4 separate regions of the Homo sapiens genome follow, and all the other regions are linked to region 3. The links are contacts of gene promoters, found by promoter capture Hi-C in blood cells and fetal thymus (Javierre and others, 2016). All regions are on one chromosome and are shown on one strand. The core of a region is centred on a gene start or on the middle of the fragment in contact, and the rest is flanking DNA. Distances in the headings are between cores, read along the strand shown.

Region 1 (6,118 bases), core at 2,181-4,680, 300 kb before region 3:
CACCCCAAATCACTGGTGGTGAATCTGTACACATTTGTGGCATCTTTAGGCCTTGCCTCCTCAGAAGAAATAATTTGACTGAGGGGCATAAAACAGAAAAAGAGACTGAGGCAAGTTCCAGAGCAGGAGTGGAAGTTTATTAAAAAGGTTTTAGAACAGACAAGAAAGGAAATAATCTTTGAAAGAGATCCAAGTGGGCACCTGAAGGTCAAAGAGAGAAAAAAGGGACACTTACCTTGATCCTAGGGCTCTATAGGCTCGCCTCTTTCCCATAATTCTTTCCTTAGGGTGGGCTTCCTGCATGTGTAGTCCCTTCCTTACCCTTGGGAACTGAACACATGCAGTGTGCTTAGGAAGTTGTACCCATGTCCATCTGAGGCTTTTTTCCTTTTTGTGGTGGAGTGCCCTGAAGACCATACTTTGCCATTTTTGTCTCTTAATATGCATGCCCGGGAAGTTTCTTCTCCCTGGGATCTGCTTTTCTTGAACACTTTAACATTAACAGGTGTGGACCATCAGGAAATGGCCTCTCCCTGGTGCCAGCTGCCAATTTATCACTTTTAGAGAGGCAATGCAATAATTGCCGAGCCATCACCTGGCATTTCTAGTGGGTTGTCGGGGAGAGCCCTCTCCTGCCCCGCTAATGCCTAACTACCTGTAACAGCACTACTCTGGGAAGTTGTAGGATTTGGAACCACATATCCACCCTTTCATAGGCAAGGCAGGATTACAGCCTCGTTAAAGTCTTAGTGAAATGGCCTAGGTTAGAGGAGGCAGCTGGGTGGTGGTGGTGAGATGGGGCAGGTATGGGGACCAACTAGACCCTATATCTTGATCTTAAAATTACTTATTGATTTTTAAGTGTCCAAGGCATTTGTGAGTGGGTCTCCCTCCCCCATTCTGCATACTCTGAGTCATCAGAGAAGAGGGATTACTTGTCCCTTCTTGAAGTTGAAGTTGATGTAGTAAAACATTATGAAGTTTACTTTTTAAAGTATCATGTTCTAACTATTTTGAAAGAGCTTCAGACTTACAGAAGAATTGTAATAGAGTACAAAGAATTCATGTATAATATTCATCCATATTCCCCAAATGTTAGCATTTAACCACATTTGCTTTATCATTTTTCTCTTTACATACACAAACACATTTCGGAGACTTTGAGAGCCAGTTGCTGCCATGCCCCTTTATCTCTAAATATTTCAGTGTGTTTTTTCTGGAAATAACGCCATTCTCTTACAGAATCACAGTATAATTTTCAAACCCATGAAATTCACATTGCCACAATACTATTACATAATTTATAGACCTTACTGAAATTTCACAAGTTGTTTCAGTAAATTTTTTTCTAGCAAAAGAAAAAGTCCACAGCATAAAACGTAGCGTTTAATTGTCCCATGTCTTTATGTTACCAGAAAGGGATCCCAATCCAGACCCCAAGACAGGGTCCTTGGACCTCGAGCGAGAAAGAATTTGAGGCCGAGTCCATAGAGTAAAGTGAGTGCAAGTTTATTAGGAAAGTAAAGGGATGAAAGAATGGCTACCCCATAGGCAGAGCAGCAGCAATGGCTGCCTGACTGAATATACGTATAGTTATTTCTTGCTCATATGCTAAATAAGGGGTGGATTATTCATGAGTTTTCTGGGAAAGGGGTGGAGAGTTCTCAAAACTGAGGGCCCCTCCCCTTTTTAGACTATATATGGTAACTTCAGACATTTCTGTGGCATTTGTAAACTGTCATGGCACTGGTGGGAGTGTCTTTTAGCATGCTAATGCATTATAATCAGCATATAATGAGCAGTGAGGTCAATCAGAGGTCACTTTCATTGCCATCTTGGTTTTGGTGGGTTTTGGCCAGCTTCTTTACTGCATCCTGTTTTATCAGCAAGGTCTTTGTGACCTGTGTCTTGTGCCGACCTCCTATCTCATCCTGTGGCTAAGAATGCCTGACCTCCTGGGAATGCAGCCCAACAGGTCTCAGCTTTATTTTATACCCAGCCCCTACTCAAGATGGAGTTGTTCTGGTTTGAATGCCTCTGACATTTAGTCTCCTTCAAGCTGGAATCATTCCTCAGTCACGTTCCCTTTCATGAACTTGCCATTTTCTTGCTAGGTACAGGACAGTTCTCTGTAGAATATCCCTCAGTCTGGTCTTACCTGGTGTTTTATCCTGTTTCCTTATGATCAGATCTATTTAGGTTGTGCCTTTGGGGCAGGAATACCGGGAGAGCTGCTGGGTTCTCAGAGCTTCCCATCAGAGGCCCTAAGGCTCACTTTGCCCAGGACTGAGGATGTTTACCTCTGTCACTTGGTCAGGTGTTGCTTTCAGGTTTATCCACTTGAAGGTACTGTTCTCCCCTTTGTAATTAATAAATATGTGAGGAGACATTTGGAAAGATTTAAATAGCTTGTTTCTCATCACATTTTCACCCACTAGTTTTAGGATTCTTGCCTGAAATGTTTATTGTTGCAGAGGTTGCCAAATGTCGATTTTTCTCATTTTGTTTTTCCTACTATGTTTATTAGTTGAAATCCAACACCATTGGTTTTCTAACAACATTCCAGAAAGATTTCATCTGTTAAAGAGAAAATATCTGGGCTAAATTAAATCCATAAGAAATAAAAACCTCTCTTCTCTCCTCTCCCTAACCCCAGAGCCCAGGTATTCAGCTAAGTGGCTTATCTATCCATATTTAATACCATGGAAATATGTAGAGCTGTTGGAAATTGTTCCTAAGGCCATTTTCTATTTTAGGTGACAAAATTCCTAATCCTCTCTTAGATCCTTCTCTCTTCAGGTTTACCCTATACTTTTTCTCCTGAAGTCTTGGTCTCATTCTGCCTTTCCTGGCCTTCTCCTTAATACACACACACCCCTTGGAACCTGGCTCTTAAAGCTGCAGAAGGAAAAGCTCTCTTCTGAACATTAAAGAACCTACTCACCTGCAAACCTCTTTCAGGGCATGGCCAGCAAGTGCACATTCCACAGGCACCCTTAGTCCCTTTTATTTCTAGCTCAGCACTTTCAGTAATGCCCTATCCAGTCTTAAAGTCCAGATACTCAAGATGCATCTAATTAAATTCTCTCTGTCACTCTCCAGGGTAAAATTAGGCAATTAGTTATTCACACTTAATTTCATACTCTTGAAATGCCTTTTTAAAAATAGAACCTATAACAGATCTCTCCTCCACTAGGCTCCTGAAATACAAAGCTATGTTTAGAACTCTTCCCCAATCTCTTCCCTCAGAAGATTTCTGACTTTCATCTCAATTGTCTGTGAGCACTATCCCTTTCCTGGGACAATCACTCTCTGTACCACGGACGTCGGAAGATCCTTAGATTATTCTAACAACTTCTTATATATTTTTCAGGGAAGCTAATTTTCACTTATACCAAAGGACAAGGTTGACCAGCTTCCAAGAAAATCTTTCTTCCTGGTTAATAGACTATGCTACTTTTCATCTTAGGGAAATGGATCTTTTTTGCTTTATAATATGATGCCTCTCTCAAGCTGAATAAAAAGCATCCTCTGGTCCAAAATTCATGGCACAGTCACCTGTTTCTGGGAGGGGAAATGCATTTATGACTAACCATAAATCTTAAGCTAGGAATTGAAATGCTAGGGCTGCCAAATAAAGCAGACTTTCTTTCCCAGGAACTGCTGGGGAACTGAATCACTCATTAGTACCAGAAATTGCTATATTTGGAGAAACTTCAATTTCTCCTGAGTAACCTTGTTTCTCTATAAGGTAATGTTTAGAGATAATATTTTTCTTTCTTCTTCCCATTTAAAACCCTCAAAAGACAGCATTTCCTTGCCTCATTCTTGAATGGGCTAAGAATGAAAGAACTCCTCACCAACAGTTTTTGGCTACTTTGGGACAGGGAGCTTATCTTCCATGGAAACTCACCAGACCAAAAGCCTTTCTAGAACTCGAGATGAAGATATAGCCTCTGTATCAGTATTGAGCCAAAGCAACATATATTCAGAGACCCAAACTTCTGTTAGTTACTATAGCATTTCTAGATATTGATTGATGAGGTGGACTCAACTGCTCTGTAAATTACATGATAGTTTATCTTAGGCATGTTTGAACTGGACATAGAATACCTTGACAAAACACATCTGTAAACTCAGAGTATTATAATAGCTAGCAGGTCAGAAAAAGAAGTGACCCATAGAAACTAAGGGCTAAATATTTTGTCTGTAGCCTTCCCTTCTGTGATTAAAGTTTGGTACATAAAGGGAAAGAATCAAGCATTTATCCTGTCTTTCCTGTACCTCACTATAACCAAATGGCAGATGAAGGAAAGTTCTTTCTTATAAAAGACTTCCAGATAATAAAGAAGAAATGATAAAAGAATATCAGTGTTTTGCCACTGCAACAATAATGGATTTAGGCAATGGTATCAATGACTCTTTAAATCTATTAGGTGACAGGCTAATGGAGAACCTTAAAATAGAAGGACCAACCTGCCAACACTTGAATCTACCTGTCAATCTTAACATATCCAAGAGAGAAGCAACCTAATATTTTGCTTTGCAATGAGAAGCAAGAGAAAATATAAAATACAACCTGTAAAATACTCTTATCCAAAAGTTGAACCTGATTCCTATTAAGTCTCTAGATTTAACTACCAGTACGTAGGAAATACAGAGGCGAGAGGAAATGCGAAACAACATCCCAGGGATGGAGTCAGCAAAATCCAGAATGTGGGAAACTCTCAAGACAGACAGCCCAATTTCTTCAACAAACAAATTCCAAGAAAAATTAGAGAAGAGGAACCCATAGATGAAAAGACATCTATGAGAAGTATCAAACAAATGTGATGTGGACTTAGGATCCTGACTCAACAGTGCAACTAGTGAAAAAAAAAAGACAAGTACTAGATTACCAGATACATTTGAACATTTGGATATTTGAAAATACTAAGTAATTATTTGTAATATTTTGGTGTGATCATGGTATTATGGTTATGTTTTTAAGAGTCATCATTAACCAATACTTACTAAAGCATTTATTGATGTGTCTTAGTCCATTTTCTTTTTTTTTTTTTATTATACTTTAAGTTTTAGGGTACGTGTGCACAACATGCAGGTTTGTTACATATGTATACATGTGCCATGTTGGTGTGCTGCACCCATTAACTCGTCATTTAACATTAGGTATATCTCCTAATGCTATCCCTCCCCACTCCCTCCACCCCACAACAGTCCCCGGTGTGTGATGTTCCCCTTCCTGTGTCCATGTGTTTTCATTGTTCAGTTCCCACCAATGAGTGAGAACATACGGTCTTTGGTTTTTTGTCCTTCTGATAGTTTGCTGAGAATGATGGTTTCCAGCTTCATCCATGTCCCTACAAGGGACATGAACTCATCATTTTTTATGGCTGCATAGTATTCCATGGTGTATATGTGCCACATTTTCTTAATCCAGTCTATCATTGTTGGACATTTGGCTTGGTTCCAAGTCTTTGCTATTGTGAATAGTGCCGCAATAAACATACGTGTGCATGTGTCTTTATAGCAGCATGATTTATAATCCTTTGGGTATATGCCCAGTAATGGGATGGCTGGGTCACATGGTATTTCTAGTTCTAGACCCCGGAGGAATCGCCACACTGACTTCCACAATGGTTGAACTACTTTACCGTCCCACCAACAGTGTGAAAGTGTTCCTATTTCTCCACCTCCTCTCCAGCACCTGTTGTTTCCTGACTTTTTAATGATTGCCATTCTAACTGGTGTGAGATGGTATCTCATTGTGGTTTTGATTTGCGTTTCTCTGATGGCCAGTGATGGTGAGCATTTTTTCATGTGTCCTTTGGCTGCATAAATGTCTTCTTTTGAGAAGTGTCTGTTCATGTCCTTTGCCCACTTTTTGATGGGGTTGTTTGTTTTTTTCTTGTAAATTTGTTTGAGTTCATTGTAGATTCTGGATATTAGCCCTTTGTCAAATGAGTAGATTGCAAAAATTTTCTCCCATTCTGTAGGTTGCCTGTTCACTCTGATGGTAGTTTCTTTTGCTGTGCAGAAGCTCTTTAGTTTAATTAGATCCCATTTGTCAATTTTGGCTTCTGTTGCCATTGCTTTTGGTGTTTTAGACATGAAGTCC
Region 2 (6,904 bases), core at 1,850-4,349, 280 kb before region 3:
AATAATGCTTACCATTTGGTGCTGGCTCAAACTGTGAAAGAAATATTTTTGGCAAAACTTCATTTAACATTGAAAATTGAAGTTTTAGAAATTGAAAAATCTGCCTGAAATGGCTTCTCCCATATGCAGAGGCATAACGGAATAGTTTTGACTCTTTGTCATAACAGAGTCACTGCTTCTTAACAAATGACTGGTGAATAAATAAGTGTATAGCAGAGGTTAGTATCAGAAGACTGGCAGGTTTTTGCTTAAGAGAAGGTATACTCTGGGCTAAGCTGGGAGTGGAGAGTCTCTCTTTTTTTTTTTTCACCTCCTGAAAACATTTTTTCATATTAAGAGGTCTTGGCAGATTCCAACCTTTAGCGGTCCCTTCTCAAACATCTGGGTACATTTCCTTATAGTCCTGCATTAATTAGGTGAGGTGAAGGTGACACAGAAGCTGGCTTTACTCTCTGGTTCTTCAGATTTCTGGAGCTGAAGTGGACACATTTGGAGGGTAGATGGAAGGTGATGGTACATATCAGGTGATGGATCCTGAATTTTGGATGGGACTGAGCTATCCACTCCTGCATCATTCAGAGGCATCATAATTAATAATGAGGTTTAGCCCTGCGCGAGAAGAGGCATGAGGATGAGAGTGGGCTGGGAGCCCACTGTTTGGCCTGCTGAATGATGGATCTTTTGCTTATGATACACAAAAACACCATTGGCTGTTTCATAGAGACCGGGTTGAGGCTGCCTTCTCATAGAGATCTACAAACATTTATAAGGCGCCTCATGTATATGAAATGCTAGGTCCTCCCCCTGGTCTGAAGATGCAAGATGGTATCCCTCAAGGATCTTTTTGGTCTGCTTCTTCTAGTAGGCCCTTCTAGAGTCACACTAGAAGTGCCAGGACAGATGAGGATATGGGAGAAATAGGACAAAGACACGCAGAGCTTAGGACAGGGCTTTGTGTTTTCACTTCGAGTGCTCATAAGTGAGTGCTGCCCATCCAGAGGGGCAGCAAGAGTTGGAACACAATGGCCCACTCTAGTGTGTCCCCCACCCTCCATGTTTCTCCGCCCAGCTTTGCACTCCCTGTCCCTTGGTGTGCCCCAGGTCTGGTGACATGGCAGAATGGGTAAATAATCGACTCTGGGTCTGTTTTGGATCATAGCCCTCTATTTCCTAGAAGTGTGACTTATTCAATTTCTCTGAACTTAGTTTCATCAGTCAAAAATATGGGGATAGTGATATTAGTACCTACCTCTCTGGGTTTTGTTAGGATTTAGTGATATAATCGCCTGATATTAATAGAATAATAATAATCATACAGTATTTTCAATGCATCAGGCAGAATTTTCTTACCTAGGGTTTTAATGCACTATAAAAGAACTAATCTATGAAGTCTCTGAATAAACCAGAGGCTCATATTCTACCCAAAGTGGTATATTACTGGTAGTAGAATTTCAGGTGAACGATTTAGGATAGAAGAGGTGTGTTTAGGAAGGGAACTTCCCAAATGCTCAAACTCTACCTGCCATGCAGGGCCGTTTCCTTGGTCCTTGGATGGGGACTTGGTAAGAAAATGGATGAAGGAAAGAGCACACCAGGAACATTTACAAGGGGCAGACTCAAGCTGAGAGAGATTGAGAGTTCTTTACCTTGCAGAGGGGGCTGAACCACTGATAAAATACCCTGCCCTATTCGCTTCCTGTTCAAGCAGGGATCACATCTGCACAACCCCGTCCTGGATGGGAAACCCTTACCTGCTCTTCCCTCCTCCCAACCCGGTTGGTCTCAGGCTTTCATCAATTGGTAATTTATTTTTTAATTCCAGAATTAACAAAGGACTGTCACTTAAAAAAATTAATATCCCTAGCAAAATTTAAAGTATCCAACTATCACCGTAATTCCATTTTTTAAAGTAAGGGCAGAATCTTAGAACAAAGAACTTCATGGTGGGAAGAACAGATTTTTATGAAAAATTCTCTTTGTCCAGATTTGACTTTGGCCTGGGAAAACCTCAGGACACATCATCAGGGTCAGGAGTTCACCGCTGGAGGCCATGCTTATGGGTGCTTTGATTAGAGCAGAGGCAGAAGCCAGGGCAGAGGGGAATTCAGGCTCCTCAATGTTGGTGCTCTTTAGAAGGTGTGGCCAGGTGTCCCTGGTACATGTGTACATATGCGGTAAGGGAGGAATGGGAGTGAGAGTGAGGGGCAAATTTGCTACTTAAGGGTCTAGAGAATAGCAGTTCCATGGATATGCAACCTGTGCAGCCATACAGGGCCCATTCTCAGAGGGCTTTGGGTTTGGTTGAATGCTCTGTGTCACATCTTGAAATTAGAATAATTTCTTAACAAGAGGCCCCACATTTTCATTTTCCACTGGGCCCCACAAATTATGCAGATGTTTCTGAGTCCTCATAGAATTTAATTGATAGCTGCATCAGACACCTCTTCAGCACAGTTTAGAATTCTCTCAACTTTGCATCTGGCTCCAGCCTTAGCTGTGGCTACAAGTTCCAAGCATGTTTGCAGCCATGAGTGTGCACTGTGCCCTGCACTACCCACCTGAAGGCTCCTCTCTTTCCACTGCATGACGGTGGGAACTTGTGCTTGCACCACCCAGAAGTATGGCTCTGGTCCAGTGGAAAACTGAAGCCTATGGATAAATGCTTCCTCGTTTCATCTCCCAAGTGAACGGTTCTGAAATTCATTCTCTGAGACTTCTCAGAACATCCTGAAGATTGAGCACAATACATTGGTGTGTGGACTCTTTTCCTTCCCTGTTTATCATCCCTGTTCCTCACTCCTGCTCCCACTCACAGATGAGTCTTTGCTTTTGAGGAAACCCATGCGAAGACAATAGTTTACATTCTCCCTGATTGTGACCCCTACGATTACAGACTCTGGGGCTGGGGATCCATTGCCTATTGACTCTTCCATGACCCTTAGGCACACAGTTACGCCTGGGTCACTTGTCTCCAGGACCTACTTTCTGCTAGGCCCCTTGCCTGCGGCAGCTCAGGTCTGTGGAGACACTGCTTTCTGCCCACAGTTGGCAGCCAGGGACCCTTGTGCCCATGAGGAGACTCTGGCCCAAGGCTCTCTTTTGGAATCATGTTGAGGGGACAGGCATTCACTGAACCATCTTCTAGCCGAACATCTCCTTACTCTTCAGTGCACTTTCTCTGCTGATCATGTTGGGTCCCAGAAACAATAACCTTTTTACCCCAACTTTTAGCAAGACCAAGATTTATTGTATTTTGTAATATTTTAGAAAGGCTTCTTTTCATGCTTTTCATTTCAACATGGTTCCTGCCTCTTCAAAGACTACATCAGCTCTCTTCTTTAAAATAATAGCTTTATTGAGATATTTATATACCATAAAATCTACTCAATTAAAGTATACAATTCAATAGTTTTCAGTATTTTCAGAGTTATGCAATCATTACCACAATCAATTTTAGAACATTTTTATTACCCCCAAGAATTCTTGTACCCATAGCAGTCACTTACCATTTACTCCCAGTTCCTCTAGCTCTAAGCAGCTACTAATCTACTTTCTGTTTCTATAGATTTGCCTATTCTGGGTGTTTCATATACGGTCATGTGCTGCCTAACAACATTTCAGTCAATAACAGACCACATATATGGTGGTGGTCCCATGAGATTATAATGAAGCTGAAAAATTTTTATTGCACAAATACCTACCATTGTGTTACAACTGCCTACAGCAGTCAGTACAGTAATATTCTGGACAGGGTTGTAGCCCAGGAGCAATAGGCTATACAATATAACCTGGACATGTAGTAGGCTATACAACTTAGGTTTGTGTAGGTGCACTCTGTGATGTTTGTACAACACTGAAATGGCCTAACAATGCATTTCTCAGAATGTAGCACTATCCTTAAATGACTCATGACTGTGTATAGAATCATACAATATGTAGTCTTTGTGATCACCTTTTTCAGATAGCATAATGTTTTCAAGGTTCATCTATGTTGTGGCATGTAGCAGTTCCTTTTTATGGCCGAATAGCATTTTGTTGCATGGGTATACCACATTTTATTTATTTATTCATTCATCAGTTAATGAACATTAGGGTTGTTTCCATTTTTTGGTTATTATGAATAATTCTGTGTGAAATATTCATGTGCATGTTTTTGTGTGGATATGTATTTTCATATACGTATGAAAACATGAAGTTGAAGAAATGAAATTGATTGGTTCATATGGTATTGTATATGTTTAATCATCTGAGCAACTGCCAGACTGTTTTCCAAAGTGACTACCATATTTTCCATTCCCACAAGCAGTGTATGAGGGCTCCAATTTCTTTACATCCTCACTATACCACTTTTTTATTTTAGCCATCCTAGTGGGTGTGAAGTGGTATCTTATTGTGGCTTTGCATTTCCCTACTAGCTAACAATGTTTAACATCTTCTCATGTTCTTACTGGCTATTTGTATGTCTTCTTTAGAGAACTGCCTATTCAGACCATTTGGCCATTTAAAAAATTGGATTATTTGTCTTTTTGTTATTATTTGTCTTTTTGTTATTATTTGTCTTTTTGTTATTATGTATTTTGGATACTAACCTTTATCATATATATATATATATATATATATATATATATATATATATATATAATATACAAAAATTTTCTTCCATTCTGTGGGTTGTCTTCTTACTTTCTTGTTGGTGTTCTTTGAAGCACAGAAGTTTTAAAATTTGGTAATGTCCAATTTACCTATTTTTTTGTTTCTTGTACTTTTGATATTATATCTAAGAAGCCATTTCCTATTCCAAAGTCATGAAGATTTATGTTTATGCTTTCTTCTGAGAGTTTTGTAATTTTAGCTCTTACAATGAGATGCTTGACCCATTTTGAGTTAATTTTTTATATAGTGTATATAGTGTGAGGTAGTGATACAATTTCATTGTATTGCATGTAGATATCTAGTTGCCTCAGCATCACTTGTCAGAAAAACTATTTTTTTCCATTTAATTGTCTTTGTGACCTTTCAAAAAGGAATTGATCATAAATATGAGGGATTATTTGTGTACTCCCAATTCTATTCCATTGATCTATATGTCTATCTTTATGCCAGTAGCAACCTGTCTTGATTACTATAAGTTTTGAAATCAAGAAGTATGAGTTATCCAACTTTGTTCTGTTCATTTTCAAGATTATTTGGGCTATTCTGGATTCCTTTAATTTCCATATGAACTTAAGAATCAGCTTGTCAATTTCTGCAAAGAAGGTAACTGAGATTTTGTTTGGGATTGCATTGACACTGTAGATAAATTTGGAGACTATTGAATTTTAACAATATTAAGTCTTTTCATCCATGAACATAATATGTCTTTCCACTTATTTAGGTCTTTAATTTCTTTCAATAATGTTTTTGTCATTTTCAATGTATAAGACCTGCACTTCCTTGGTTAAATTTATCCCTAAGTATTTTATTCTTCTTATTACAAATGAAATGTTTTCTTAATTTACTTTTGGGTTGTTTATATCTGTGCAGAAATACAGCTGATTTTTGTAATATTGAGCATCCCTAATCCAAAATGCTCCAAAATTCAAAACTTTTTGAGTGCCAACCTGATGCTCAAAGGTCATGCTCAAAGGAAATGCCCATTGTAGTACTGTGAATTTTGGGATTACGGATGCTCAACTGGCATGTCTATGCAAATATTCCAAAGTTCAAACAAATTTCCAATCCCAAACAATTCTGATCCCAAGCATTTTGGATAAGGGATATCCAACCTGTATAACAATCTTGTAACCTGCCACTTAGTTTAAATATTTTATTAGTTTTAATTGTTTCTTAGTGGATTATTCAGAATTTTGTACATACAAGGTCATGTCCTCTGCAAATAAAGATACTTTTATTTCTTCCTTTCTAGTCTGAGTGCCTTTTATTTATCTTCTTGCCTAATTACCCTTGCTAGAACCCGCAGTACGGTGTTGAATAGAAGTGGTGAGAGTGGGCTTTTGTGTCTTCTTCTTCATCTTAGGAGAAACTTTTCTTTCTCTCTCCATTAAGTATATTCCTAGCTGTGGATTTTTTTATAGGTGTCTTTTATCAGATTGAAGAAGTTCTCTTCCATTCCTAGTTTGTTGAATGTTTTCTTTTAATCATAAGGGGTGTTGGGTTTTGTCAAATGCTTTTTCTGCATCCATTGAGATGATCATGTGTTTTTTTGTCCTTTATTTTGTTGACATAGTGTATTACATTCATTGATTTTTAGATATTAAACCCACCAATCTCACTTGGTCATGGTGTATAATCCTTTGTATATACTGCTGGATTTTGGTTTGCTAGTATTTTTTTGTGTGGATTTTCCCCCCACTATTTTATCACTCTTGCTATAAACCTCTGACTTTAGGGACATGAACTCAAGCCAAAGAATGTGTGTTGAATAGACATCAAAGATTTTTAATCTAGGAAGGTTGTTGTGAAACAGAAGTAGAATGGATTGGGGCATTTAAAGTGTTTGAGTCTATAAAGAGGGAGCTGAGATATTTTGTCTTGGTTTAGTGCACAGATCACATTTAGAATGGTAGCTGGCATTTGAGTAGGTCTCTGGGGCAGAAGTATCTACCAGAACTATGATGGAGGTGTTGCCCATATGCTGTTCTACACTATTTGGCTGTGTCAGCTGCTGCCCCTGTCTCAGCCCATCCCAGATGAGAGTCGAAGTTTAGGTTTGTTCTAGCAAGTTGGGAAAGCCAGGAGGGATCATGCAAGCTTTGTTTGCTTTGAGGATAGAACATGCAAGCATTGCAGGATGTTAACATGGAAGAGTCTGCTGAAATAGTAAGACAATAGATATCACAATTCAAAGCAAGGGTCTTCAGTACAATGTAATATTTCTAAAAGGAATGATAGAAAACAGGCTAGA
Region 3 (6,718 bases), core at 2,591-5,090:
CTCCCTAGTAGCTAGGACTATAGGTATGAGCCACCATGCCACGCTAACTTCTTTATTTTTTGTAGACAAGGGAGTCTCCCTATGTTGCCCAGGCTGGTCTCGAACTCCTGGCCTTAAGGCAATCCTCCTGCCTCGACCTCCCAAAATGCTGGGATTACAGGCGTGACCCTGGCCATAACCAGATGGTTTAATAGACTAAGTAGACCATTGCTGTAAACTCAAAATAGATATTAGAACACACACCATACCTTTTCTAATATATAATTTCAAAAGCAGGCCATTTGACAAAGCCTGAGTGCATGGTGTGATTGACAGTGAATGAACTGATGCCAACCTAAAGTAGACAGACACCAGCGGCCCAGCACACATGTCCAAGTGTCTGTACTTGGTTCCATCCTTTCAACTGTTCACCAGTAATTTGCACAAACTCACAGAAATGTGTAAAAGGGCAGCCAGCATAGGTCCAGAATGATGTAACACAATGGAATTTAAATGCTAAATCCCTCCATTAAAGGCTCACAAAGGCAGTTCCACCAACACCAGTCAAAAAAGTCAAAGATTCATAACAATTTATGTTTTAAAAAAAGGCATAGGTAATGTAAATACAGGTTTAATACAGGCCAACAGCAATATGATTGCACAAAAAACGAATTCAATATTAGACTGCATTTACAAATCGCAAATTGCCAAGAAAGTTACTACTGTCTACTAAAATTAGTACTGATGTCCAGGGTACTCCCTTTCAGCGGCAGCAACAAGACTGAAAACGTTTGATCATTCTCCCAGCAAGCCCCTTCCCCCATAGGAGTCAGAAGACCAGTCACGCATTTGGAAGGGGAAGGAGAGAAGCAGAGAGGAAGGAAGCGAGACTGCTGTCTCCAAATGTCTGAAGGCGGTCCCAGGGAACAGAAAGACAATCAAGGGAGGCAAACTTCAGTTCAATACAAGAAAAGACATGCCAGAGATCAGGGTTGCTCATAAACGGACTGGCCCACCAGAAAGGCAGTGAGCACTTCACCAGTAAAGGCCAGACCCGCTGAGGAAACAGGGACAGTAGGTTTCCCTGCTCAGGAGTAGGTTTCCCTGCCCAGCCGCCCCTACACTGGACTTTCACAGGCAAGACTGCCTCCCTAACTCCCACACCTCCCCATTCTCTCAATCAAGGCATTATATGAGAATGCACATTAGTAAGAAATGTTAAGACAAGCACTACTGCTATATATTTTTTTAATTTGCAAATTCTGGTGCTTTAGCAAAGGTCAGAGACACTAACAACTATTAATAACTCATGAACTCTGATAGTTGGACAGCTAACTCACTGGGATACCAGCAACGCTGCTCTCAGATCCAATACTCAGATTATATTCATTCTATGTAGTTTCCCTAAACAATTTTCCTAAACAACGTTCTCAATTTCAGTACATTAATAGATTTCAAACTCAAAATGAGTACGCTTTTCCTGAAATTACTTCACTTCGTAAAGGTTGCAGGCAAGAATTCTTTGCAGGAATTTCTTAAACTCAGAGAATTGATCTTAATTCCTCTACCAAAGCAGAGATTGAGAGGTGTGGAAGGGTGAAAGCAGATTTCTATTTACAGACATCCGTTCTTCTCCATTATTTCCTCACTTTTTGAAACTCACCACTAAGTGACAGTGCAGTGTTCAAACAGATACCTAACATGGTTTAGGTCCCCTTCTAATTCTACCCTCGTCTCAAGATTACAGATTTGAGCAGCTCATTACTCAACTATTCAAACTCTAAAATGATAGCACTGTCATCAAAGGTACTCTTTGAACCTTCGAGAAAGAGTACTCATTCCCTAATGCAAGATACTCGAGGAGGAAGCTGCCTGTCGAGCAATCCAACTTACACTCTAGGGAAAAGACCCAGGCGTCCACGTCTCTGCTCGCTTCCTCACCTGTAGAATATGATTCTGAAACCCACAGTGGTACTGCTGTCAAAGTCGCCCCTTTCAGCCTGCACAATACACTCCATATCACCTGCTCTAAGGGCCAGGCTTTACCTTTCTGAACGTGGATGATGTCCGGGAAGTTAGCCAGATGCCCCTGATACAGCGCTAATAGGTCCATGACGGGATCCAGGTCCTGCCTGGGCTGCTCCGCGAAGAGCTCGCCAATGGCGTCATAGGCATCTCCGGTGAAGGCGATAGCCTGGTTCAGGCCCACCGAGAAGGCCTGCTGGTCCAGCTCAAAGGCCTGGCTGAGGCCGCGGAAGGACTGGCCCACCTTCTGATACTCCTTTTTGAAGCCGGTCACCTGCTTGCGCGCGAACTCGTTGGCCGTGTGGTTGAGCTGCAGCGCGCTGTCGTCCATCTTCTTGGTGAAGCACTTGAAGCCGTCGATCTTGCTCTCCACCTCCTGCAGGTCAAGGGCAGCGGCGGGGGGCGTGCTAAGGGTCAGGAAGAAGTTGGCGCCCACCATCTCGTCCTTCTCGGCCTTCCTCTTGCCCTGCTTCCAGGCTTTCTCGTCGGTGCTGCTGGGGCACGTCAGGAAGTGCTGGAAGACGTCGCACTGCGCCAGCACTGGGTGGCTGGCCATGTGGTTCATCCACCAGATCAGGCCCTTCCTGCGCTTAGAGATGAAGTCCTCCTCGAAGCGGCCGGTGGCCTGCTTCTCGGGCAGGTGGGGCACGGAGATGACCGGGAACTTCTCCGCCAGGCGCGCGTACAGCCAGTCGAAGTGCTTGTAGCGCCGATGCACCGGCACCTGCGTGTGCGTGGGCACCAGCTTGTAGGAGATGTAGCTCTTCATGCCCTTGAACTTGGTCTGCTTGGTGGGGTCGTCGATGGTGCACTGGAACGGGTAGGGGTTCTCCTGCCACTCGGGGCCATAGGGCCCCAGCACCACGCACAGCTTGTCCCCGTCCTTCACGAAGCCTGACGCCTCCCCCAGCACGAAGGCCTCCCCGCCGGACTTGACGAAGGTGGAGAAGCGATTGAGGTTGCGGCTCACGGTGGCCGAGCTCTTGGGCCCCGACGGGTGGTGCTGCGGGGGGACCGAGCCGCCGCGGGAACCCAGGGACAGGTCGGAGCGCGTGGACAGGCGGTAGCGGCCGGCTGCGCCCACACCCGCCGAAGACGAGCCGTCGAGGTCCGGGTATGCTCCGCTGCCCAGAGCGCCCGGCTCGTCCGCCACCGTGGAGCTGTCGTCCCACTCGTCGTCCCAGTCATCATCGCTGCCTTGGCTGGCCTGGTAGCCGCCGTAGAGCTGCTGAGGCGACGGCTGCAGGGCGCCCCCGCCGTACGGGAAGCCCGCGCCGGGCGGCTGGAAGGTGCTCGGAGGCGGCGCCTGCTGTGGCTGCAGCAGCGCCTGGAAGGCGTCAGGCGGCGGCTTGAAGGAGGCGGGGGGCGCGACAGGCAGGGGCTCGAAGCCCCCGGGGGGCACATTGGCGTAGCGGGCCGGGGCGCCCGGGCCGCCGTCTCCCGCCGGGCCAGGCTCGGGGGCGCGGATCACCTGCACATAGGAGGCCGGGAAGAGGCCGCGGTCGCCGCGGCTGTTGACCCCCTCGAGCCAGCCCTCGATGTCCTGCTCGCTGCACAGGCTCAGCACCTCGTGCTCTCGCAGCGAGATCTCTCCTGGGTTCTCCGACCTGAAGTCGTACAGCGCCCGGGCGCGCAGCGCCATGGTCCCGGCGCCCCGACTGGCGGTCCCGACTCCCGGCGTCCCGAGCCGAGGCCCACCTGAGGGGCCCGCGGTACTGCTCGAGCCCTGGCGCGCGGACTGGAGCCCCGAAGGCGGCAAACCCACGCTGCCCGGACCAGCCGGTCGCGCCCTCCGCGCGGCTCCGCTCGCAGCGCCTCCACTTCGCAGCGCCGACTGCCGCGCTGGGCCGCCGCAGCCGCCGCCGGTCGGGGGCGGGGCCCGCGGCCTCCCACGTCTCCAGCTGCGCTAATCCACGGCCGAGAGCCCCTTGCCAGGCGAGAGCAAGCGATGGCCGAGCCGCCGAGCCCACCGCCCGCGTCGGCTTTGCGGCGGCCACTGCCCTCTAGTGGCCGGTGCCGCGAAGCCGGGCGCCGTAGTGAGCGCGGCTGAAGGAGGTTTCTACTCCGAAGTGAATTATCTGAGATTTCTTTAGGCTTTTAAGTTAAACATTCTCTAGAAAGTAAGTTAGCATTTGCATGCCTGATAAACGTTCCCACTCTGAGCGCTCAGTGAATGCTCCTAGAATGGCAACCCAGTCATGTAATAAAGCATTTTGCAATGCGAATTAGTGATTGCACTAAGAAAACAGGATGCCTCTGCGGAGGAGCTGTTCACCTACAGAGCAGGCTCCCTTCCCTCTTCTGCTCAAGGAGAGGAGATTGGCAAGAACAAAGTAAGGGCCAGGGAAGGTGCTGTGATTGACAAAATTAGAAGCAAAGGATCATGTAGAGAGGGAGGAGCTGGAGAGTTTCCAGTACAATAAATGCTCACACATTTATTACATGCATGTGTCGCCTATCCTCCCATAGATATATGTAGTGCGGTGAATGAGAGCTCAAACTTCGGAGCCAGGCTTCTGAATTTCAATCTGTGTTCTGACACTACCTAGCTGTATGACCTGGAACAAGGCACTTATATCGTACCTACCTCCGGGGGTTGTTGTGGGGATTCCATCATAAAGTAATCCCTATTTTACAGATGAGGAAAGTGAAACAATATCTGGCAGGGTAAGCAGATTTGAAGGGTTTGTTGCTGCTTTTGCTGCTGTTACTGTTATTTGGGGGAAGCAAAATCCCTGGCCTCTTTCACAAAGGGAATAGGGGTACTAAACTAACAATTGCAGGGTACATGCACCAGGAAGCGTCCCAATGTTCACATTGCCACTCCTAGTAAGAGGTCAGTGACCATCCATCCATCTGTTGTCTCTATGTCTCACTATATTTATATTATTTTTAAGATAAATAGAACAAAAATCACTTCCTGAAATAATCAGCTCCAATCTATCGTTGCCTTGTTTCCTATCTTCCTTTCCTTCAGTGTATAATTTGCCCAAAGCTTTTTCTTCTCTTAATCCCCTCTTATTAAGTCTAGCCTAATTATTCCTTTGAAGACACTTCTAATTGAGGTTCTGCATTCATGTGTCATTAATTTCAGCCTGTCCTCTGACCCTTTTCAAGGAAACCTGGGAAACGGGCCAGAAGAGTGTACAATTATTCTAAGGGCTGTGGTATTGTAAGCATCTTGCACAAAAACACAAACCCACTATACCAGAATCACTCCCACAGTGTTTATCCTAATGCAAAACCTTAATTCAATTCAGTAAGCATATTCTAAATTACATTTTTAGCTGAAAATTCTGGGTTTTGACTATTCTCACAGTAAGCAACAGGGATCATTGAATTTCAATGCCAACATTTCATGTGGTCAGAAACATGAAGTCCACATTAACTAAACCTCTAGAATATGACTCATTTTACTTCTGAAAAGCTAACCTAGAATATGTAAGATAAATAAATTTAGTTTCGCCCCTTCTGTTCGTTTAGTAGTTACTTTTTAGATTAGAGTTAAGTACAGTAACTTTGGGCTTATTTCAGGTGTGAAAATTCCAGGAGTTTAAGGTGATGATTTTTTACAGACTGGTTGAGCTACTCTGTAGAAATGGTGGTTGAGGAATTATTGGGTGTCCAAGGTTGTTTGTAGCACTGGGGCATGGGCGTCTGCAGGTGCTTACTTTGTAGGAGTCCAGTGGGAGGCCTCTGTGCTTGCCGCGCATCAGGCTTCCAGAAGGATGAGGACAGGCTGTCATGATGTTTGGCCCTATGGCCACTAGTGGCAGGAAAACCCCTACCTCTAGAGGGTCTTAGATATGTAGAAAATTGTGCTCCAGTATTAACAACCTATAACTGTTCACTCAGGGAAATAGATACAGTAACACATTTTGTAAAGATTTCTCTAGAAAATGGAGCATATTATTCACAGTTTAGTTTACACAATCATTATAACCACCCATATGCTTCTGTAAAGTTTTTAGGGGACACTAAATGACCCCAAACAATTGCATTTTCTTACTTCCTCCCTTGGCCTGAGAGGCCTTAGATAGCCTGGCCCTTGGCTATCTTTCCAGCCCCCTTTTCCACTGAAAGAAGCCACAGTGGTTGCTTTGCTATTTTTGGGACAAGTCAAGCACGTTTCTTGCTGAAGTTTTTGCCTTCGCTTTTCTCTCTCCCTGGAGCCCTCTTCCCCGGGAGATCCACCATGCCACATCATCGCTTCATTCGGTCAGAACCATGGGGCTTTCCATCCCTCCTTTCTTCTCCTTCCTTGGAGATACCGGAAGACAGAGGGAGCCTGGGTCCCTGAGTCACCGACCCCAATCATACTTTGTGAGAGAAAAATCCTTTGTCCGACTAAGCCACTGAAATTTCAGAGATTGCTGAGGCAGCTGGTACTAATTATGCTAATATAATCTCCCTCCCTCCCTCCCATCCCCTGTCCATCCCACAGTCTCACTTTTCTTTGTAGCAACTATGACCTAAGATAAACACGTCTATACATTAACGGCCTCCCCTATTACAACATAAACCTTTTCAGGGCAATGAGGTTTTCTGAGCACTGAGGATATAGCAATGAACAAAACAGACATGTTAGGCAACCAGTTAGTATTTGTTAGATGAATGAAAGAATGTCCACTTACATCCTCCCTAGATGAAGTCAGCTCTCTCCAGTAGCTCTTATTGTGTCTGGGTCAGCTTGCCTGGTGCCCTCTGCCACCCA
Region 4 (6,681 bases), core at 1,149-3,648, 330 kb before region 3:
GGGATTGAGTCAAGTCCCAGAAGTTCATCTACTAGAACTTCTATCCACCAGGACACTAGAAACTGGTACTATAGAGTAGTGCTAGAGTTGACACAGCCTATAACAAGCCCCAAGTCCCGCTTTATCAGGATACATTACCACACGTAAGAGGGCTCTGTGTTCTAGGTGGGGAGTCAGGTTTGTTGCCCTCAGCTTTGAAGTCTCCTTGTGACTCCTCAAGGTCCCAGCCCTGCCTGCTGGTTAACCCTGACTGCCCTTGACCCTGCGCCTCTGCCTTGTTCGTTTCAGCAGGAAAGGAGGTTGGGATGGAAGTACCAGCCACACTGTCTGCAAACCTGACTGATCCACTTTATATACTGCTGTTGTGGCCCAAAGTTATGAAGGAAGAAAAATAACACATTATGAAATTTTAAATATTCCAAGAAAAAGGGATGTAGATTAGGGTGTATAATCACAGTGTTGCTTTCCTTGTGTCTACAGTATAATGTGAATGAAATTGCTGTCAGGATTTTAGAATGATGAAGTCTTGTGCACTGAAATTTTATGATTTAATCACAATGGCTATTAACAATGTCAACATAATTTAGACTTGATGAAAAAGAGCCAAGAGGCATCCAGGAATTGGCCTTGCTGATTTTGATAGCCTGTGTAGGCAATTTATGACATTTAAGACATCCTTTTATTATTATTATTATTATTATTATTATTATACTTTAAGTTTTAGGGTACATGTGCACAATGTGCAGGTTAGTTACATATGTATACATGTGCCATGCTGGTGCGCTGCACCCACTAACTCGTCATCTAGCATTAGGTATATCTCCCAATGCTATCCCTCCCCCCTACCCCCACTCCACAACAGTCCCCAGAGTGTGATGTTCCCCTTCCTTTGTCCATGTGTTCTCACTGTTCAATTCCCACCTATGAGTGAGAATATGCGGTGTTTGGTTTTTTGTTCTTGCGATAGTTTACTGAGAATGATGATTTCCAATTTCATCCATGTCCCTACAAAGGACATGAACTCATCATTTTTTATGGCTGCATGGTATCCCATGGTGTATATGTGCCACATTTTCTTAATCCAGTCTATCATTGTTGGACATTTGGGTTGGTTCCAAGTCTTTGCTATTGTGAATAGTGCCGCAATAAACATACGTGCGCATGTGTCTTTATAGCAGCAAGATTTATAGTCCTTTGGATATATACCCAGTAATGGGATGGCTGGGTCAAATGGTATTTCTAGTTCTAGATCCTTGAGGAATGCTCACCATCACTGGCCATCAGAGAAATGCAAATCAAAACCACAATGAGATACCATCTCACACCAGTTAGAATGGCGATCATTAAAAAGTCAGGAAACAACAGGTGCTGGAGAGGATGTGGAGAAATAGGAACACTTTTACACTGTTGGTGGGACTGTAAACTAGTTCAACCATTGTGGAAGTCAGTGTGGCGATTCCTTAAAACATCCTTTTAATATCTGCCCCTCATTTTTTATTGGAGTGTGGTATCTCTTTTATCCACTAGAATGTGTAATAACAATGGCAAATGAGCATAGAAACTTTCTGGAAAGACTGTGTGTATTGATCAATTGCAGAGTGTTCTCATAAATTGATAACCTTTAACATTATTAAATAATTTTCACACATCAGGTGTGTTTACTTTTTTGTGAAAGCTAATAGATATAGCATATGCATTTTATCAACATAGTAGAGCCACGAGAATGCAGTTTTCAATAACATAGTTTCTCCAAAGCTATGGTTACCAGTTACTTCTTTCCAGGCAAAGTTTTAAACTTAGGAGATTATTTCAGATGATGATGTTTCTTATTTCTATATTTCAGAGCATATCAAACAGTAATAATAACAACCATTTACATGGTCCATTACATGGTCCTAATGATAGTTATTACTTACATAGTACTTACAGTGCCTGGCATTGTTCTATGCGCTTTACATTTACCCAGTGAATCTTCAACAACTCTCTGGGATATGATTTTTATTTTAAAGATGAGAAATCTGCAATGCAGAGAGGCTTTGACACTTCTCCAAGGTCCAAAGCAGAAGGGCTGCTGGTGGACAGCAAGTGGCAGAGCTAGAATGCGAGTTTGAGTTTGGCACCACAGTGTTCTCTCACTTCTTCCTTCATAGTTAGCGAAGAAGCTCAAGGACCTGGTGAAGCAGATAAAGAGAGTATTGCTCTTATTCCAATTTTAAGAAGGTGGAATTAAAGATCAAGAGGTTAAGCGATTTGCCCAAAATAACAAAGTTAGTGGCAGAGTCTGGGGCAAAGGCAGTTATGCAAATGCAAATGTGATAAAGTCTTCAGATTCAGTGCTGTTTCTGACTTTTCAAACAGCATGTTCTCAAGACATTCGGATTATCCTGCATGATGACTCACTCTCCCTACTTGTCATCTGGGCCTGGAGGAGGTGGCAAGAAAGTCTGTCTGCAGCCTAAGTGGGAGAAGAAGGTGGGAGCGTGGGGGATAGAGTTGCTGATAACATCTCAGACTCTGGAGGGAGTTCATAGCCAGCAATCAGAATGTTAACCTCTGTGTCCCACCATTTAAAACACACTTCTTTCTCCTGACAAATTAAAACATTTCCTTAAGCCACAGTTCTTTCAGCTGATCTCCAAGGTCATTCAATGGTACAAGAGATCATTTGTGTCCCAACAAACTGGAATTGGGAATTGGAGTTAGGCCATCTTGGGTGAATCCTTTGCATTTTACTTTGAAATATATTCTACTGAGTATTTTTGTATTCAAATATGATCAGTGAATTTTGTGCATATCTGATAAAACATATTTTTGTCCACAAGGGGGCTTCATTTTCCTATTTTTCAAGTTCCTCTTTCAGTAATACTATACATTTTGTTTTGTTGTTTTTATACTGAAAATAGAACCATTTGCTTGCTTTTGAGAAATACTTGTCATCACTAAAAGGAGCTTTGAGAGCTGGTCACAGTAGAAGAATTAAGGCAGCAAAGTTTGAAATGCCAATTGAAGCTCTCGGGGGACCAACAGTGGGAGAGTGAATTCATGAGCATTTCACATCCCTCGTATGAAACGCAACAAAGGTCTAGGCTTTGTTGTTTTTGTTTGTTTGTTTGTTTGTTTGTTTTTGAGACGAAGTCTTGCTCTGTCACCCAGGCTGAAGTGCAGTGGCACGATCTCGGCTCACTGCAACCTCTGCCTCCAAAGGTCTGGGCTTTTAAATATTAAGTTTACAACTAGGATTAAATGGGATCACAATTAGGTTTCTAAATACCACTAAACTCTTCTTAAAGCTAAAGGTCAATTTAAAAATTATTATTCCAGGTTTGTGTTATTTTCTGATATTTATGCTTTGAACTATTCTTTTTTGGGCTTTGGATCACTTTAAAATCTGAATTCAAATTGGGGGTCTTTGTTTTCCTTCTCCTCATCTGCCTGAAGTTTCCATTACCAAGCACTGGGCACTAAATCAGGCCTTACCTGAAGCAATGGGGTCGTTAATTGAACTAAATTTGGTTTGAGTGGAAATGAGACCTGAGGCTACTAGATCTTGTTTTGAGTGGCAGGTTTTCCATTTGTTTTGGAAGATGGTATATTTCAGAGGCGAGAGGGAGGGAAAGCAGTGTTCCATAGCAGAGTAGCTGCAGTGGAAAACATGCTTTGTCCAGCCTTGGTGTGTATGGCCTTGGAAAAAATGATTGTTTCTACAAGTCACGAGAAGAGAAATGGCAGCACATTTCCAAGTCAGCTGGAGCTCTAGAAGAAATGAGGATGAGATATGTGGATGGATTAAAAAATGTAAAAAGTGAAAAACCAGAATGAGTGGGCTTGGAATTTTGTTAAACAGTCCAACTTGCGCATTTTATTATAGCCTTTCTGTGGGTTTAAATGAAGGCCAAAACCTTATTATTTGAACGTTGTATTGATTCGCATTTCTGGTAGCTATTTAAAAGCTGATGTCCTTAGAGCTTAGTGCTGCAAAATCTTCAGTAGGCATATTCAAATGGCAAGATATAGGCATGTCCATCAACAACACAATTATTAAACAGATAAACTATTCACCCCAAGTTATGAAAGAATGCTGGAAGATTAAACAAAATCTGCAGTACATGTTATAGAATAGCCTCAATAATGGCAATAATCACACTCTAAGTGACTTTTTGGAAATACTAAAAAGTCACATCTGTCCTCAAAGCCAAATCTGATGAAGAAGATGGGTCATATAAAGCTAATATTTATTGAATGCTTACTATGTGCCTGATGAAACAGTTCTAAACACTTTTCATATATTAAGTCACTCAGTCTGTGCAACAGCTCTATCATTTCTAGTTTACTGATGAGGAAATTAAGGCAGAGAGAGGTTAAGAAATGTGCCCAAGGTTATATAGCTAGTAAGCAACAAAGCAGTGACCCAAACCCAGGTGGTTTAACTGGACAGAAACTAAATCAAGCATTCTTGAACAACCTGAAAATATTTAAAAGAATTTCAAGTAGTGCTATTGTTATTGGCACATGTTATTTTTCAACATAACTACTTTGAGGAGTTAAACATTGGTTTGGCAGTGTAAGTTCGTGTGTGTGTGCATGCGCATGTGTATATATGTGGAGTATGTGGGTATTTATTTATGTATAATTACTTTATGGTCTCATCTGTTAACTTTTAAGAAATTAAAGGATAATTCACAAAGTAGTTTTTTTTCCTGTGTTATCAGTAGTTGGTGTATTAGAAGGAAGCAGAATGGATTATCTTCCAGCCCCATTATGCCTGACATGAAAACATAGGAATCTTATATACTTTCTGAGTTTCCTGTCTCAAGTTCTGTTTAGTTATTAGATGATGCCATCCATCATCTAATTGGAGTAAGTTATTTCACAAACTGCTCTTTCTACTGAGGGAAATGGTTCTCTTTAACTGGAGAGATCATCTATTAAGTCATTTAGGACTGAATTTTTAAACAAGTTATGAAAAAGCGTAGAAGATGATAAAGTTCTTATGCATGGGTATGTGCACATGGTGTTTCTGTGGGTAAGAAAAATACATATAAATACAAATACAGATATAAATGTGAAATTTGAGTTAGTGACAAAACTACTTGTCTTTAGTGTTAGTGAAGTATCCTGTGGCTGCATGATTAGAGAAACTCAAAACAGCCAAATTCCATCAAATGTGATTCAGTGTCCATATAAACATTTTAAACCCATGTTCAAAACTGAACTCCTGATCTTACTCCCCAAATCTACTCTACATTCAGCTTTCCTTATCTCAACTGATGGTAACCCTGTCCTCGTTTCTGAGGCCCAAACCATAGAGTCATTCTCACCGCCTTTCCTTCTTTCACACCTCGCCAAATTGAAATAGCCAGAAGCTCGGCTGGTTTTGTCTTCAACAGACACCCAGAATTTGGCCACTTCCCACCACCTCTGCAACTTCTGGGGCCACTCTCTTCTGTCATCCTTCTCTGGAATTATTGTAGTCACCTCCTAACTGGTCTCTCTGCCTCTACCTTGTACCTCCCAGAGTCTATTCCTGATACAGAAGCCAAAGGATTCTGTGAAAACATGAGTCTGACCAGGTCACTCCTCACCTAAAACTCTGCAATGATCCATCATTGCACTCAAGGAAGAACCAGAGTTTTTACAGTAGCGTTCAAGACCCCGAACAATATGACAACCTTCATTATGTTTCAACTCATCTCCTTTTACTCTTCATCTTGCTTATTCTGCTCCTTCCAACTGACCGATTTCCTAGTCTCCCAACAGATGAGGCCTGCCTTTGGGCTGTTTCCTCTGCCTGTATGGTCCTCCCCTAGATATTTACATATTCACTGGCTCCCTCTTCACCTCCTTCCAGTCTTTCCTCAAACTGAACCTCATACTTAACATTTGCTCACTCCTGAGGCCCCCCTTATCTTGCTTTATTTTTTCTTTTTTTTCATAGTGCTGTGACTTTTTTTTGACACATTGTTTAATTCATTTCTTTATTATGCCATTGTTTCTTCTCTGTGTCCCTTTGTCCCTTCCTGCTGGAATGGAGGCTCCTGAGAACAGGACTCTTTTTTTGGTTACGGATGTATAGCAAACACCCAGAACATTGTCTGGAAGATAGTAAATGCTCAATAAATGCTTGATGAATCGTTAAATTAAGATGTTTAGGCAATGTAAATAGATTTTAAATGTAATTGGAAAATAGGAACTAGTACTCAGATACAATTGTAGATGTGTGCTATCAGCACAGCAAACATTGCAAGGCCATAAGAACAAGATATTTGTGTTCTTGCAAGACAGGTAGGACAAATAGGATAGAAAAATATGCAGTGTGTGTGTGTTTTTTTTCCCTCAACCATTTAAAAGCTAGTGAAATAATTTGCGTCTTACAGCAATGAATGGAAATCCTTAAATCAATCCTATGAGATAGGTTCTGAATTATCTGAGACCCCATGTAGAGTATCCAGCATGTGCCATGCACACAAAAGGTGCTTAGTCATCATCAATTTTTGGTGTTTTTCTACATTATACAAATGTACATGCACTTCACATAATGAAATTGGATTAATTATGAATCCTATTTCTTTATTGAAACCTCATAAACCTCATAAATTAACTAAACACTACTTCAGGCTTTGTATTTCACCTGACATTTAATTATACATCTGTTTCAAATGAAGAAACTTCATGCTTTAAAAA

The links. The method cuts DNA at HindIII sites, captures the fragments that hold promoters and counts their contacts. A CHiCAGO score of 5 or more calls a contact.
Region 1: a fragment that was not itself captured here is called in contact with the fragment with the promoter of SNX18 in region 3 in 1 of 17 cell types (neutrophils); the score reaches 7.6 in neutrophils.
Region 2: a contact is called between a fragment that was not itself captured here and the fragment with the promoter of SNX18 in region 3, in 13 of 17 cell types (neutrophils, total B cells, naive B cells and 10 more). The highest score is 19.4, in neutrophils.
Region 4: a fragment that was not itself captured here is called in contact with the fragment with the promoter of SNX18 in region 3 in 17 of 17 cell types (monocytes, M2 macrophages, naive CD8 T cells and 14 more); the score reaches 58.9 in monocytes.

The regions. Positions count from the first base shown.
Region 1 is chr5:54,818,040-54,824,157 of GRCh38, reverse strand. It overlaps the pseudogene CSPG4BP. Among named protein-coding and RNA genes, the nearest start is that of LINC02998, 77 kb to the right of the region's middle. The HindIII fragment of the contact is 7,986 bases long and covers 1-6,118 here.
Region 2 is chr5:54,796,502-54,803,405 of GRCh38, reverse strand. No RefSeq gene overlaps it. Among named protein-coding and RNA genes, the nearest start is that of LINC02998, 56 kb to the right of the region's middle. The HindIII fragment of the contact is 7,306 bases long and covers 1-6,752 here.
Region 3 is chr5:54,514,881-54,521,598 of GRCh38, reverse strand. SNX18 (sorting nexin 18) reads right to left here and starts at 3,840. Exons shown (of 2, transcript NM_001102575.2): 1 at 2,026-3,840. The coding sequence starts at 3,646. RefSeq lists an enhancer at 1,988-2,932 and silencers at 3,405-3,964, 3,845-4,086. The HindIII fragment of the contact is 5,643 bases long and covers 1-5,001 here.
Region 4 is chr5:54,841,473-54,848,153 of GRCh38, reverse strand. It overlaps the pseudogene CSPG4BP. Among named protein-coding and RNA genes, the nearest start is that of LINC02998, 100 kb to the right of the region's middle. The HindIII fragment of the contact is 9,684 bases long and covers 1-6,681 here.